Linked DNA regions of Homo sapiens: region 1 is linked to region 2. The links are contacts of gene promoters, found by promoter capture Hi-C in blood cells and fetal thymus (Javierre and others, 2016). All regions are on one chromosome and are shown on one strand. The core of a region is centred on a gene start or on the middle of the fragment in contact, and the rest is flanking DNA. Distances in the headings are between cores, read along the strand shown. Region 1 holds the start of BCAT2 (branched chain amino acid transaminase 2). Region 2 holds the start of TEAD2 (TEA domain transcription factor 2).

Evidence for each region. The method cuts DNA at HindIII sites, captures the fragments that hold promoters and counts their contacts. A CHiCAGO score of 5 or more calls a contact.
Region 1: a contact is called between the fragment with the promoter of BCAT2 here and the fragment with the promoter of TEAD2 in region 2, in 2 of 17 cell types (naive CD8 T cells and M1 macrophages). The highest score is 5.5, in naive CD8 T cells.

Annotation. Positions count from the first base shown.
Region 1 is chr19:48,806,612-48,813,892 of GRCh38, forward strand. It overlaps BCAT2 (branched chain amino acid transaminase 2), which reads right to left and starts at 4,418. Exons shown (of 11, transcript NM_001190.4): 1 at 4,373-4,418; 2 at 389-463; 3 at 1-106. The coding sequence starts at 4,396. LOC105372432 (a long non-coding RNA gene) reads left to right here and starts at 758. Exons shown (of 3, transcript XR_936017.4): 1 at 758-788; 2 at 1,358-1,488; 3 at 3,733-4,226. HSD17B14 (hydroxysteroid 17-beta dehydrogenase 14) reads right to left here. Exons shown (of 9, transcript NM_016246.3): 7 at 7,052-7,119; 8 at 6,845-6,941; 9 at 6,407-6,737. The coding sequence ends at 6,564. RefSeq lists enhancers at 1-552, 3,998-4,067, 4,341-4,635, 6,649-7,260, silencers at 4,388-4,607, 5,684-5,993 and a cis regulatory region at 5,497-6,037. The HindIII fragment of the contact is 3,241 bases long and covers 3,852-7,092 here.
Region 2 is chr19:49,356,444-49,363,665 of GRCh38, forward strand. It overlaps TEAD2 (TEA domain transcription factor 2), which reads right to left and starts at 5,973. Exons shown (of 13, transcript NM_001256660.2): 1 at 5,890-5,973; 2 at 3,401-3,638; 3 at 2,992-3,056; 4 at 809-871. The coding sequence starts at 3,632. It also overlaps a transcript of DKKL1 not described here. RefSeq lists enhancers at 3,302-3,802, 4,348-5,057, 5,058-5,766. The HindIII fragment of the contact is 6,430 bases long and covers 3,662-7,222 here.

The sequences.
Region 1 (7,281 bases), core at 3,168-5,667, 550 kb before region 2:
CCACCATCAGCATGTGGTCGGTAAATGTCTTCCCAAACACCAGGGGCTCGCCGGGGCCAGGCTTCTTATGAGGCTTCTGTGTCATTTCCAGCTGCAGGTCTGCAGCCTGAGGAAAGACAGGGGTATCCTAGAATCTGGCCACAACCTCCCAGCTGAAAAACTACAACTCCCATGAAGCCCTGGGCCTCAGACCCATAGAGAAGAAGGACCTGTCACCCTGGAGGATTCTGGGACATGCAGTTTCATCCCTTGTCTGCGGCCCAATGGCAGGCTGTTAAGCTACCACCACTCACTGCCATCTCTGGGCTGTGGACCTTTTGGAGATGCCCAAAACCAGCTGCCAGCCCCCTCCTCTCTCAGAGCCAAGCATCGAGTTCCCTCCTTTCACCTTGAAACTGGAGGAGGCATATCTTCTGGGACCACACAGAAGCCAAGGGACAGAGAGAAGCTTTCGTGCCCAGATCTGGGTGGAGAAAGAAGTGAGAGAGGGGGTGAGTGGGGCACAGCAGGGGCCCTGGCAGCTCGCTCGCCACCTCCTGCACTTGGAGGTCCCACTGGCCTGCCTGTTCTGTCCCAGTTTCAGTCCATTCTAGACGGGGCAGGTGGTCCTGAAGGAGGCCAAGTCCCCTCCCTGCCCTGACGAGGGCTCGCTGGAAAGAGCTGAGTCAGCTCCCGCCCCCTCCTCCATGCTGCGGCAAAGTCAAACGCAAGCGCCTCCCACCCCAGAGACCTTTGGTCGCAGCCTGGAGATCAGCTCAGACAAGAAAACAACCAGGGAAGGCACACAGGTAAGTGAAGGCCTCCGGGTACCCAAGTGCTGACAGGCCTTAGAAGACCAAGGACCGACAGGTCCTGCTCCCCCAGAGCTCAGGGGTGCAGACCCCAGGCCCGCCTCCCTCAGACCTAAGTAAGAGTCCAGACTCTAGCTGCCTCCTCCCTCAGACCCGAAGTCTGGGCCCCCAGCCCCTCCTCCCTCAGACCCTGGAGTCCAGGCCTCAGACCCTCCTCCCTTACATCCAGGAGTACAGGCCCCACCCCTCCTCCCTCAGACCCAGGAGTCCAGTTCCCCAGCCCCTCCTCCGCCAGACCCAGGAGTACAGGTGCTTATTCTCTGAAGGTATTCGATCAACTGGGCTCTGATTACCTGAAATACAAACCCATTTTGGCAGTGACTCCAATTCCCTTCAGCCCCTGGGGCTGAGGGGCAGCTACAGGGGCCTGGGGAGCCACTGCAGTCCTCACTGCATGAGGCTCAGGCGGGTCCTCCCAGAGGGGAGTAGGAAGAGCAGGTCTGGCTGTGTCCAGCAGGCTGGGCCCTCTCTGGTGACCTTTGACCTCACAAGGCCTCTTTCCCCAGCCCTGTGGGGAGGCGTTGGGGCGTGAGGTTGAGAGAGACAGAGTGGCCTGGCCTGGCCTGCCCTGTGAGCTGGGTGAGTTGGCACTGATTCTGGAAGATGGACGTGAATGGGCGTGGTCACTTGTCGCTAGGTGAGTTGCTGGGAGATGGGCCTGCAGCGTGGTCTTGCTGGTGTGAGGCTCCAGGGATTCCGGGGTGATCAGAGCGTGGGTCCCCAGATTGCCTTTGGGTGGCGACATCTAGACTGCTCAGCCTTGCAGCCATGCTTCTGCCCAGAGGGATAGGACACCCACAGTATGAGAGACACAAACACAGTGCGACAGCCAGCCTGTGGGCAGGAGAGCTGCCCTCAGAGCCAAGATGAAAAAAAGAGAGTAAGAGATGGAAGAGGAAGGATGAGAAAAAGAAACACAGAAAGGGGCGCACAAACAGAAAAAAAAAAAAACAAAAACAGAAATTGACGCCAAGAAACAAGAGATGCCAAAATAGATCTAATCATAGAAAGAGGCCACACGCAGTGGCTCGCGCCTGTAATCCCAGCACTGTGGGAGGCCGAGGCAGGAGGATAGCTTGAGGCCAGGTGTTCAAGACCAGCCTGGGCAACATAGGGAGACCCTGTCTCTACAGAAAATACAAGTTAGCTGGGTGTGGTGGCGGGCGCCTGTAGTCCCAGCAACTTGGGAAGCTGAGGCAGGAGAATTGCTTAAACCCAGGAGGCGGAGGTTGCAGTGAGCCGAGATGGTGCCACTGCACTCCAGCCTGGGCGACAGAGCAAGACTCTCTGTCTCAATTAAAAAGAAAAAAAACAAAGAAAGAAAGTAGGCAGCTGGCTCAGTAGCTCATGCCTGTAATCACAGCACTTTAGGAGACAGAGGTGGGAGGACTGCATGAGGCCAGGAGTTCAAGATCAGCCTGGGCAATATAGCAAGACCCTGTCTCTACAAACAATTTAAAAATTAGCCAGGTATGGTGGCACACACCTGTAATTCCAGTTACTCAGAAGGCTAAGGTGGGAGGATCACCTTGACCTACTGGTCAAGGCTGTGGTGAGCTACGATCACACTGCTACACTCCAGCATGAGTGATAGAGTGTCTCTCAAAAAAAAAAAAAAAAAAAAAAAAAAAAAAGACCAGCATGGTGGCTCATGCCTGTAATCTGAGGCAGGTGGATCGCTTGAGCCCATCTACTCGGGAGGCTGAGGCACCACAGTCACTTGAACCCATGAGGCGGAGGTTACAGTGAGCCGAGATCGTGCCACGGCACTCCAGCCTGAGCAACAGAGCAAGACTCGGTCAAAAAGAAAAGACGAGACAAAGAAATAAAGTACGTTTGGGGGTTCACAGGGCAGGTCTCTATAATGTGATAGAACCTCCATTATGTCCCATACAGCCCAGGAGTATCACCATCAAAGACCAGGAGTGTCACTGTCAAAGCCCAGCAGTGCCCTCCATACTCCAGGACTGTCCCCATATCACGGCCCCGGAGAGACCCCATCATACCGCAGTCTGCCCTTGTCACAGCCCACACATGACCCCATCACGTCTAGAACTGCCCCCTTTATAGCCCAGGACTCTCCCCCATCACAGACCAGGGCTGTTCTATGATGGCCCAAGATGCTCCACATCACAAGTCCAGATTGTGCCTGTAACTTATCAGAACTGGTCCCCAGCAGAGCCAAGTACTGTCCCAAACAGCTCAGGAATGTCCCCTATCCAAAGCCCAGCACTTTTCCCCATTATAACCAGCATTGTCTCTGCCAAATATCAGGGCTTATTTCCTATTCACCAGGTCTGAAATTAAAAAAAAAAAAAAAATCCCATTGTTGTCTTTTTCAATCCCCAGGACTATCCCTATGTTGCTGTCTAGGCCAGTACCTTCCAGACTGTCCCTACCATGGTCCAGCACTGTCCTCTCCACACCCCGGGACTGTCCCCATCACAGCTGAGGACTCAGCCCAATTATCTCCATTACAGGATATCTCTATCTTCATCAGAGCCTAGGAATGTCCCATCATGAGTTCAGGGCCATTCTATGACACCAGAACTGTGCCATGATGAGACGGTCCACATCAGTCCCAAGTGGACCTGTCAAAGCCCAGTACTGCCCCACCACAGTCCAGGAGTGTCACCACTAAAGCCCAGATTGCCCACATACCCCAGGTATCCCAGGACTATCCCTATCAGTCACTAAGAGCCGAAAAAAGTGAAATTCTGCCCTGACATTCATCAGCTAGGATAAGAGACTCAAATAAAGTCAGGTGTAAAGTTAACAGACAGTTCTCCCAAGGTTACACCGCAGCTGTGAAGGCTTGTAATGACCCCTTTCTTTGGCTGTTTCCTTCCTCACTGAGAAACCTTGTTCTCTGAAATCATAGACTCTGGGAAACGCTGCTGCTGTTTGACATCGCACAGTCAGAAGGGATCGTCTCAGCCAGCCTGCAGCATCTGTCACTTTGACCATGAGACGCTGCCTCGATTTCCAATCCAGGTGCAAAGCTTCAGATAGGAGTTTGGGAAGCACAGCAATCCCCATCTCTTATTTTTTTCAACTTTCATTCCAAGAAAATAGGACCTTGAGTCCAATTCCCAGAGCTGAGACTTGAGGTCCAACTCTGCCTTCACCTGCACCCGGCCCTGGAGGTCTGGGCCCCTTTATTCCAGCTCCCGCACAGGCTGATGCCCCACCGCACCCCAGGGCTCCGCTCCCCAAATCACAACCTCCCCACCCCCACGCCTCCCTCATTACAGGGTCCTCCACCATGTTTCCCTTTTTTTTTTTTTTTTTACCTCCCCGCCAATTACTTGCCCCACCTCATCCGCGTCTACCTGCTCCCCCTCACCCCATTAAAGCCTCGTGCTCCTTTCCAAAGGGCGCCATCCTCCTCCGCGCCCTGCAGCGGAACCCCAGGGCGGGAGGAGCGGCGCCGAGTCGGACCGGCTGCAGGCCAGTGGTCTTCCCGGAAGTGCGCCTCCCCCGGTTATTTCCCAGACCCCGGCGCGGGGCTGCGAACCCACCTGCCCCAGAGCGGCTGCGGCCATGATCCGTGCGGCGCGTAACTGTGCCCGCCCGGGGCGCGGCTCCGAAGAGAGACGTTCCGGCCACGCCCCGCTCACGCCTCCTTCTGGGGGAAGGCGGCCGACCAGCGCCCCAGGCCGTCCCAGCTCCAGGGCGTCGGCAGGGAGCCGGACACTGCTGCGGGGCGCAGGCGCTGGTGGGAGGGCAGGACTTGAAATACGGTCCCTGCCAGGCGAAGTGGCTCAGGTCTGTAATCTTAGCACTTTGGGAGGCCGAAGCGGGCGGATTACCTGAGGTCAGGAGTTAGAGACCAGCCTGGTCCAACATGATGAAACCCCGTCTCTACTAAAAATACAAAAAATTAGCCGGGCGTGGTGGCGGGCGCCTGTAATCTTAGCTACTCGGAAAGCTGAGGCAGGAGAATTGCTTGAATCGGGGAGGCAGAGGTTGCAGTGAGCCGAGATGATGCCACTGCACTCCAGCCTGGGCGACAGAGTGAGACTCCGTCTCAAAAAAAAAAAAAAAAAAAAGTCCTGGCTTGGTGGCTCACACCTGTAATCCCAGCACTTTGGGGGCCAAGGCGGGTGGATCACCTGAGGCCAGGAGTTCAAGACCAGCCTGGCCGACATGGGGAAACCCCGTCTCTACTAAAAATACAAAAATTAAGGCCAGGCACGGTGGCTTACGCCTGTAATCCCAGCACTTTGGGAGGCCGAGGTGGGCGGATCACAAGGTCAGGAGTTCAAGACCCGCCTGACCAACATGGTGAAACCCCGTCTCTACTAAAGATACAAAAATTAGCCGGGTGTGGTGGTGTGCGCCTGTAATCCCAGCTACTAGGGAGGCTGAGGCAGGAGAATCATTTGAACCCTGGAGGCGGACGTTGCGGTGAGCCGAGATCGCGCCACTGCATTTCCAGCCTGGGTGACAGGGTGAGACTCCGTCTCAAAATAAATAAATAAATAAAAATAAATACATAAAAATACAAAAATTAGTCGAGCGTGGTGCCGGGGGCCTGTAATCCCAGCTATTCGGGAGGCTGAGGCAGGAGAATCGCTTGAACCCGGGAGGCGGAGGTTGCAGTGAGCCGACATTGCACCACAGCACTCCAGCCTGGGCGACAGAGTGAGACTCCGTCTCAAATTAAAAAAAAAAAAAAAAAATCGTATCCCTCGGCCATCGTGTCTCGGCAATCCTACCCTGGGACACTCTGTCTCCAAATTCTACCCCCACAGTGCCCCCAAGTCCTGTCCCCGGGTCACTATCCTGCCACCCCTAACAGCCACAGGCCCAAACAGCCAAACCGCGGGACCCTTCCCTCACAGGGCGTCGCCCTGTTTTTCTGCGCTCCGCCCCAGTCCTCCTGCCCCACCCGCCAGCCCCGGGCTGTAGGGTCGGGGCCCACTGACAGCTCCCGCCCCCGCCGCGGCCAATCAGCGGTTGGTGCACACGCCCCCCCGGCCACAGCCAATCCGCAGCAGCCCTGCAGCTCCACCCCTCACCTGGGGGACGCCAGCGCACCCGGGCCCTGCCCCCCCCCTGGGTCCAGCTGGGGAGTCTGCGTCCCCCAGTGCCCTGCGGACCAAAACCCAGGAGTTTCAGCCCCTCCTCCCTCTGATCCAGATGTCTCAACCCCCTACTTTCTCTTCCCTTTGGACTTTTCTTGCCAGCCACCTTCCTATTCTACAGGCAGTGAGAGGAAAACTCCTTTTCCCTGAGGGCCAAGAGTAAGAGGGCCTTCTGCGTCTCCCCCTCCATTACCTCCTAATTAGCGCTTAATTTACTCTCCCCTGCGGGCCTTTAGTTAGCGCGCTGGTGAAGCCAAACCGCTCTACCCTTCCCAGGAGCCCCTGGCGACAGCGACAGGGCTAGCAACATCAGGCACCTGCTTGCTGCAAGGCCTGGGGTTGGGGGGCGGGGGGAGCTGCAGTCCTTCAGGGTCGAGGCAACTTGTGGGTCTGGGGTGCAAGGGCTAAGTGGGGCAGAAGGACTCGTCTAAAGGATGGGAAATAAATATAACGATATCCTCCTCCTTCTGGCTGCAAATCGTTTTTATGGGAACCTGCAGGGTGACCCGGCACCTTGCTAACTGGGCTTAGAGTCTAAGGGCTTGGGGGCTGCATCTGATACAGGTTGGAGTTTGGGGTGGGAGAGTCCTAGGAAGGGGGCCCCAAGTAGAAATGAGAGAAATCAGGAAGGGATATCGGGGGCGTCCACGGGGGTGCTCCGACTGGCCTTGCACCCGTACCCCAGCTCTGCACCCCCCGTCACGAGCAGTTCAATGCCCGTGCAGAAGTTGGCTTCGGAGGCCAGGAACACTGCCGCAGCCCCGACCTCAGCGGGCTGGCCCATGCGGCCCAGTGGCTGGGGAGAAAAGAGGGGGGAAGGAGGTCAAGAGGAGCCCCACTTGATCGCCATGCCCCCCACCCCCATGCCACCTTCTACCACCTGGATCTGAACCCCACTTCTACCTGGGCCAGCATGCCCTCTCGGATTGTGGCCCTAGGGTCTGGCATTAAGGCTGCCAGCTCCTCCCACAGCGGGGTCCAGATGTTTCCTGGGGAGATACTAGAGGAAGGGAGAGGGGGGATCAAAGCAATCTGTCTCGAACCACTTGGGATCACTCCCAGTCACCCCAGTCCCCCCAGGAGGCTCTCCGCCTGCTCAGAGCAGCTCACCAGTTGACTCGGACACCATATGGACTTTCATCCAGGGCCAAAGCTTTGGTCATGGCTGTTACTGCCCCCTGCAGGAAATGGAGCGGGGAAGAAAGTTCAGTCCCCGGGACATGGGGTCCCTGCCATCCATTGTCTCCTGCCAGCCAGGGGGGCATCAGAATGGGGAAGTCATGCCCTCCTTGAAGGCTGCCTTCAGAGGCACCAGGCTTGGTTTCTTGGGAGAAACTTGG
Region 2 (7,222 bases), core at 4,723-7,222:
CCCCCACACACCCAGAAGGGGGAGAAAATGAGGGTCTCCGGCCAACAGGAACCAGGAAATCCAAAGGATGAGGAGAAGGAAATGAATGAGGAATCTCCACCAGGAAATGAAGATTTCTGGGCACAAAGAGTAGGCAGGTCATGCAAAGGTCAGGAAATGGGAAAACAAACCAGCGGAGATGAAGAGGAGGCCTTCACAGCACAAGAGGGGGAAGATATGAGACCGCCAGGAAGAGGGAAAGGAGGGACAGGAGCAGAGGGAAGGGAGGGGGACAGGAACAGTGGTCAAGGGAGGGGACCGACGGCCCATCCTTCCTGCTGTCCTGAGCAAAACCTTCAGCCTCCTCCATGCCATCGCTCCCTGCCCAGGGTCTCAGCAACCGCACCACCATCCCTATGCATCTCCCTTTGTGGGCCACTGACTCCCCACCCTGGATGACTGCACCCCCCGCCCTGACCACAGAGGTCCCTCACCTGAGGTCTCTGTCCCCCTCTGTCTCTGGGTCTCTGTCTCCCTCTGTCTCTGGGTCTCTGTCCCCCTCTGTCTATGGGTCTCTGTCCCTCTCTCTCTGGGTCTCTGTCCTCCTCTCTTTCTGGGTCTCTGTCCCTCTCTCTCTGGGTCTTGGTCCCCTCCCCCAAGTCTCTGTCCCCCTCTCCCTGGGTCTCTGTCCCTTTCTCTCTGGGTCTCAGTCCTCCCCGCTCTAAGTCTCTGTCCCCCTCTCCCTGGGTCTCTGTCCCTCTCTTTCTGGGTCTCGGTCCCCCACCCCCAGTCTCTGTCCCCCTCTCAGGATGTCTGCATTGGTCCCTACCTTCAACTTGGACTGGATTTCCCTTGATTTCCTTCGGGCCAAAACCTGGATGTGACTAGAAACCTGGAAGGATCAACGGAGAAGCAGATTCAGGCCACAGCCACCGCCCCTGTGTTCACTACCCCTTCTCTCCCTCCAGGTGCCTCACTGAGCTGCTGGACCATGAAAGGTGAAAAACACACTGAAGATGAGAGCCATCTCGGGAGCACCCGAACACAGATGTCCATAAAGGAGCTCGTGAACACCACGGACCCTCCCGGGACCCATCCCATCCAGGCCTCCTTCCCCTCCACCATGCTCTCTCTGTGGCTACTCTGGGTCTAACACAACCACTAGAAAAACTATCCCCAAACAGGCACAGTGAGAGCACACGAACAGACATGCTGATACAGTTCGGACATTCGTCCCTTCCAAATTTCATATTGAAATGCCATCTCCAGTGTTGGAGGTGAGGCCTGGTGGGAGGTATTGGATCATGGAGGTGAACCCCTCATGAATGGCTTTGCACCATCTCCTTGATGATGAGTGACTTCTCACTCAGTTCACACAAGATCTGGTTGTTTAGGCCAGGTGTGGTGGCTCACGCCTGTAATCCCAACACTTTGGGAGGCCTAGATGGGCAGATCACTGGAGGTCAGGAGTTCAAGACCAGCCTGGCCAACATGGTGAAACCCTGTCTCTACTAAAAACACAAAAATTAGGGCTGGGCTCAGTGGCTCAGCTGTAATCCCAGCACTTTGGGAGGCCGAGGCGGGTGGATCACCTGAGGTCAGGAGTTCGAGACCAGCCTGCCCAGCATGGCGATACCCTACTTCTACTAAACATACAAAAAATTAGCCAGGTGTGGTGGTGCGCGCCTGTAGTCCCAGCTACTCAGGAGGCTGAAGCAAGAGAATCGCTTGAACCCGGGAGGCGGGGCTTCCAGTGAGCCAAGATCACGCCACTGCACTCCAGCCTGGGCAACAGAGCGAGACTCCGTCTCAAAAAAATATTTAAAAAATGAAAAAATAAAAATTTGCCAGATGTGGAGGCGCATGCTTGTAATCCCAGATACTTGGAAGGCTGAGGCAGCAGAATCGCTTGAACCCGGAAGGCGGAGGCTGCAGTGAGCTGAGATCACGGCACTGCACTCCAGCTTGGGAGACACAGTGACTTTTCTCTCAAAAACAACAACAACAAAAAGATCTGGGTGTTTAAAAAGAGTCTGGGACCTCTGTCTTTCTTCTGTTGCTCCCACTTTCCATGTGCCAGGCCTGCTCCCACTACCCCCTCCGCCATGATTGGAGGCTTCCTGAGGCCTCACCAGGAGCAGATGCCAGCTCCATGCTTCCTGGACAGCCTGCAGAACTGTGAGCCAAAATAAAGCTCTTTTCTTTCTTTCTTTCTTTTTTTTTTTTTTTGAGGTGGAGTCTGGCTCTGTCACCAGGCTGGAGTGCAGTAGCACGATCTTGGCTCACTGCAACCTCCGCCTCCCGGGTTCAAGCGATTTTCGTGCCTCAGCCTCCCGAGTAGCTGGGATTATGGGCACACACTGCCACTCCCAGCTAATTTTTGTATTTTTAGTAGAGACGGGGTTTCACCATGTTGGTCAGGATGGTCTCGATCTCCTGACCTCCTGATCCGCTCACCTAAAGTGCTGGGATAACAGGCATGAGCCACTGGCCCAGCCTAAAGCTCTTTATCAATTATCCAGCCTTGCCAGGCACAGTAGCTCACGCCTGTAATCCCAGCAATCCCAGCACTTTGGGGGGCTGAGGTGAGTGGATCACCTGAGGTCAGGAGTTCGAGACCAGCCTGGACAACATGGTGAAACCCCATCTCTACTAAAAATACAAAATTACCCAGGCATGGTAGTGCATGTCTGTAATCCCTGCTACTCGGGAGGCTGAGACAGGAGAATTGCTTGAACCCGGGAGGCAGAGGTTGCAGTGAGCCAAGATCGCGCCACTGCACTCCGGCCTGGGCAACAGAGCTAGACTCCATTTCAAAAAATAAACAAATACATAAATAACCCAGCCTCGGGTAATTCTTTATAGCAATACAAACGGACTAACACACATGCCGAGAAGACAGATGAACGCACAGGAAGCAGCTTCTTCCTTGAACCTGAACCTGCCCATGCGAGGATGACCCTAAGAAGACCGGCCCATCCCAGACAGAAGCCCACAAGTCCATTCCGAGACCTGTTTTCGAGTTCGGGTCTTCCCCGTTCTCAGCTTGATGTAGCGGGCGATCAGTTCATTCCGACCTGAAGATTCAAAGACGGAACAGAGTTAGTTAGACTTTCAACAGAACTTCCCCACAGCATGGACACCAGGGAAGAAGAAAGCAGCATGGGTCCCCAAAGGTCTGCAGCAAGTGGGCTGCCGGTCCCCTCAGCTACGTGGAAGCCAGACTGCTTGGGTTCAAATCCCAGCTCCATCACGCACTGGCTCTGTGCGACCATAAGCAAATCACTTAACCTAGCTGTGCCTCAGTTTCCTCATCTGTGCAAATGGTGATGCTAGCTCCTACTTCAGAGTGCTCCATAAACCTTGGTTACTGTCATTATTCATCAGTGGGGGCCAGGGCAAAAGACAGAAGTAGACTCACCATACATCTTGCCTTCATCAGACAAAATTATTTTCCGGCGGCCGCAGGGTGGATAGATGGCCAGGGCCTCCTGGAAGCTCTGCTCAATGTCTGGGCTCCACACCCCCTCTGCATCCGGGCCCCCGTCACCCCCAGCCCCCTCACTGCCGCCGGTACCCTCCTCACTGCCTTCCTCACTGCCCGTCCAGCCGCTGCCATCGTCCAGGGCGGCCCCAGCCCGGGGTTCCCCCATCTGGGCCTGGAGGAACACAGAACTCAGCAAGCTTCCCCCAAACCCCACCCTCAAGGGACTTGAAGCTGAGAGGGCTGGGACTCTGGACCACTGGGTCTGAGGGAGGAGGGGCTGGGGACCTGGACTCCTGGGTCTGAGGGAAGAGGAGCTGGGGGGTATTCCTGGGTCTGAGGGAGGAGGATCTGGGGCCTGAACTCCTGAGTCTGAGGGAGGAGGGGCTGGGGCCCGGACTCCTAGGACTGAGGGAGGAGGATCTGGGGCCTGGACTCCTGGGTCTGAGGGAGCGGGGGCTGGAGGCCTGGACTCCTGGGTGTGAGGGAGAAGGGGCTGGGGTCTGGACTCCTGAGTCTGAGGGAGGAGAAGGAGCTGGATTTCTTGGAAAGCTGAGGATGGGAGTGTTCTCAGAGTTTCCAGAGGAACTCAATTGTGATGAAGTCACAATGATTACCCTAGAGTAATGCCGAGGGCCATGAAGGCTAAAGGTTCGGGTATGAATTACGGGTTTTAAAGAAGACAGGAGGCAAAAGTTAGTGGTGGGGAAGGAAGGTGTGGGTGAAACTTCCCCTGTCCCACCCCAAGAACAGGTGGTAAGATGTGAGCAGCAGCTGCCAGAAAAGAAGAGGGGCCAAGCAAGACTGAGGGGAGGTCTAGAGAGAGGGGGACAGAGACCCAGAGAGGGAGGGGGACAGAGACCCAGAGAGGGGATGGGGACAGAGACCAGCAAGGGGGGGGGACAGAGACCCAGAGAGAGAAGGGGACAGAGACCAGAGAGAGAGGGGGACAGAGACCAGTGAGGTGGGGATAGAGACCCAGAGACAGAGGGGGACAGAGACCAGAGAGAGAAGGGGACAGAGACCCAGTGAAGGGGGGGACAGAGACCAGTGACGGAGGGGACAGAGACCCAGAGAGAGAGGGGGACAGAGACCAGAGGGAGGGGGGGACAGAGACCAGAGGGAGGGGGGGACAGAGACCAGAGAGGGGGACAGAGACCCAGAGAGAGGGACAGAGACCCAAAAAGAGAGGGAGACAGAGACCCAGGGAGAGGGGGAGACAGAGACCAGAAAGAGGGGGACAGAGACCGGGGGGGGGGGACAGGGACCAGAGAGAGGGGTCCAGAGGCCCAGAGAGGGAGACAGAGACCCAGAGAGAGAGGGTGACAGAGACCCAGAGAGAGGGGGACAGAGACCCAGAGAGAGAGGGACAGAGACCCAGAGAGAGAGGGGACCAGAGACCCAGAGAGAGGGGGACACAGACTCAGAGAGAGGGGGACAGAGGCTCAGAGAGAGGGCAACAGAGACCCAGAGAAAGGGAGACGGAGACCTAGAAAGGGCAGGGACAGAGACTCAGGGCAGCAGCTGAGGCCGAGACCAGGAGAGACCCACAGAACCACAAGCTGGGGGACAGGGGCGCCCTGCCATCAGAAGAGCCAGAACAAAGGGCCCAGGCGTCCCCTCCCCCAGCTTCCCACAACCCCCATCAGGGGAGGGGCTTGCCGGCCAGGGCGACTCCCCTCCGGCACCGGGCCCCGCCCCTCCCCTCCCCCGTGCGCCGTGGGCTCTGATCCAACTCAAGTTCCCAGTGACTTTCCGGAGGCCGGGAACAGGGAAAACTTTTTCCAATACAGTCAGATCCCGCCTCCCCGGAGGCTCCATGTCCTCCACAGCTTTCCCAGGACCCCAGAGTCCAGGCCCCTATTCCCCTCCTCCCGCCGACCATAGCAGACAAAGACCCCAGCCAAGCCCAGTGGCGCTGCGGCGTTCAGGACCCCCGTAGGCCAAAATCCCAGCCCAGCCCTTCCCCATGTGGCCAGACAAAGGGACGGTGGAGCCGGGTAAGAAAGGTCCCCCTAATTTCCCGCCCCAGACCCTAAACCTCCAAAGAGGCAAGACTTAAGATCCAGAAAGCCCCGTAACCTCCCCTCGGCCACCCCAGAGGCCCTCCCTTCTCCGTAAGAAGGACCAAATGCCCCCCAGATTACACAAGGGGTCCTTCTCACTCCAAAGTGACACCGCCGCAGACGCACGCCCCACACCCCGCCAGCGCCCTTGGCCCGCACCCGCTCCTGCGCGCACGCCCAAACTCAGACCCAGCCGCAGGCACCCTAACTCCGGCCAGAGTTCCCACTCCTCACTGAGGCTCGGTCACGGGAGCAAATTCGGGCCCCCGGGCAAAAAGAGGGCTGCGAACCATTCAGAGACGGTCCCGCAAACGCACGCCTCACCTCCTAAGAAGCAACTCCCCACCCCAACTCACACACCCCAAAGCAGGATCCCCGACTCCCGCCGGCGCCTTCCTACCTCCCGGCCTGGGGCTGGGGAGCCGCGGGCGGGCGGGGCGCTGCGAGGGAGAAAGTTGCCGGGAGCTTTGTTTGGGAAAAGTGGGAGGGACCGGAGGGGGGGGCGGGCCCGGCCGGCGGACAGCGGGAAGGGGGATCCGACGGTGACAGTTTGGGGAAGGATTTTTGCTTTGGGAGAGATTAGTCTATCTCGGGGCTGGTAGGAACTCAGGATTTGGGTGCTTGGGAAAGGAGGGGGATTGGGGGTTCGGACTCCAAGTCGGAGGGAAAAGGCTGATAGGAGCCAGAAACCCCTGATCTGAGGGAGGAGAGGCTGGGGGCTGGGACTCCTGGGTCTGGGGGCTGGGACTCCTGGGTCTGGGAGAGGAAGCGGCTGGAGAGAGATATGGGCTCCTAGGTCTGAGAGGGGACGGGGCTAGGCGCCTGGAATCCCGGCTACCCTCGTGTTTGTGTATTGGGGGTGCGGAAGTGATACGAATACAAAGAGTCTTTACTGTTAAGCCCTGAGGTTTTTTTTCTTTTTTTCTGTTTGGTTTTTGGTTTTTTTGTTTTTTGTTTTTTTTGTTTTTTTTTTTTTTTGAGGATTGGGGTCTGGGGATGGGTTTTGACTGATTCCTATGACGACCTGGTTTCCTTGTGACCTCACCACAGTTAAGAGTCGTGGGCAGGACCACCGGGAGTTTATTGGAGGCCCACGTAGGTGCAGATTCCTCATCTACAGGCGCTAGTGGACTGGAGACGGCTGGCGGCTGTCCCGGGACGGGGAAGAGAGCTTTGGTGCCTGAGGGAAGATGGCTTAGGGCCCGGTCCCTTAAGGGTGAAAGGCTGCGTGTTCAAAATTACGGGACTAGAGGGGGCGGGAGTCCGGACCTGAGGTCCTCAGGGAAAAGGAAGTCTGATTCTGGGTTCCTTGGAAGATGAAATATAAGACTGGATTTAGGGTTTCCGGAGACAACGGGACTTTTTAGTGGAGCGGGAGCGGGAAAACCAGAAGGGACACGGAGAAAAGGTTCCGAAACAGATACACAATTAGAGTGAGAGCTAAAAGGGATGCTTGTACTCCGGTGTCTCCAGTAGGAGGAGCCTAGGACTGGAACTTGGGGTGATGAGGGCAAGATCTGGGACGCAGGGGCGTGGTCCAGTGCAGGGGCGTGGCCCAGTGCAGGGGCGTGGCTTTCAGCCAAGGGGCGTGGCCATTGCGATTGGGCGGGACTCCGAAACGAGGGCCGCAATCAGAGAACACCGCCAGGACTTCCAGGACTTGGTCTCCAGGACTGAGGTCAACTGACGTGGG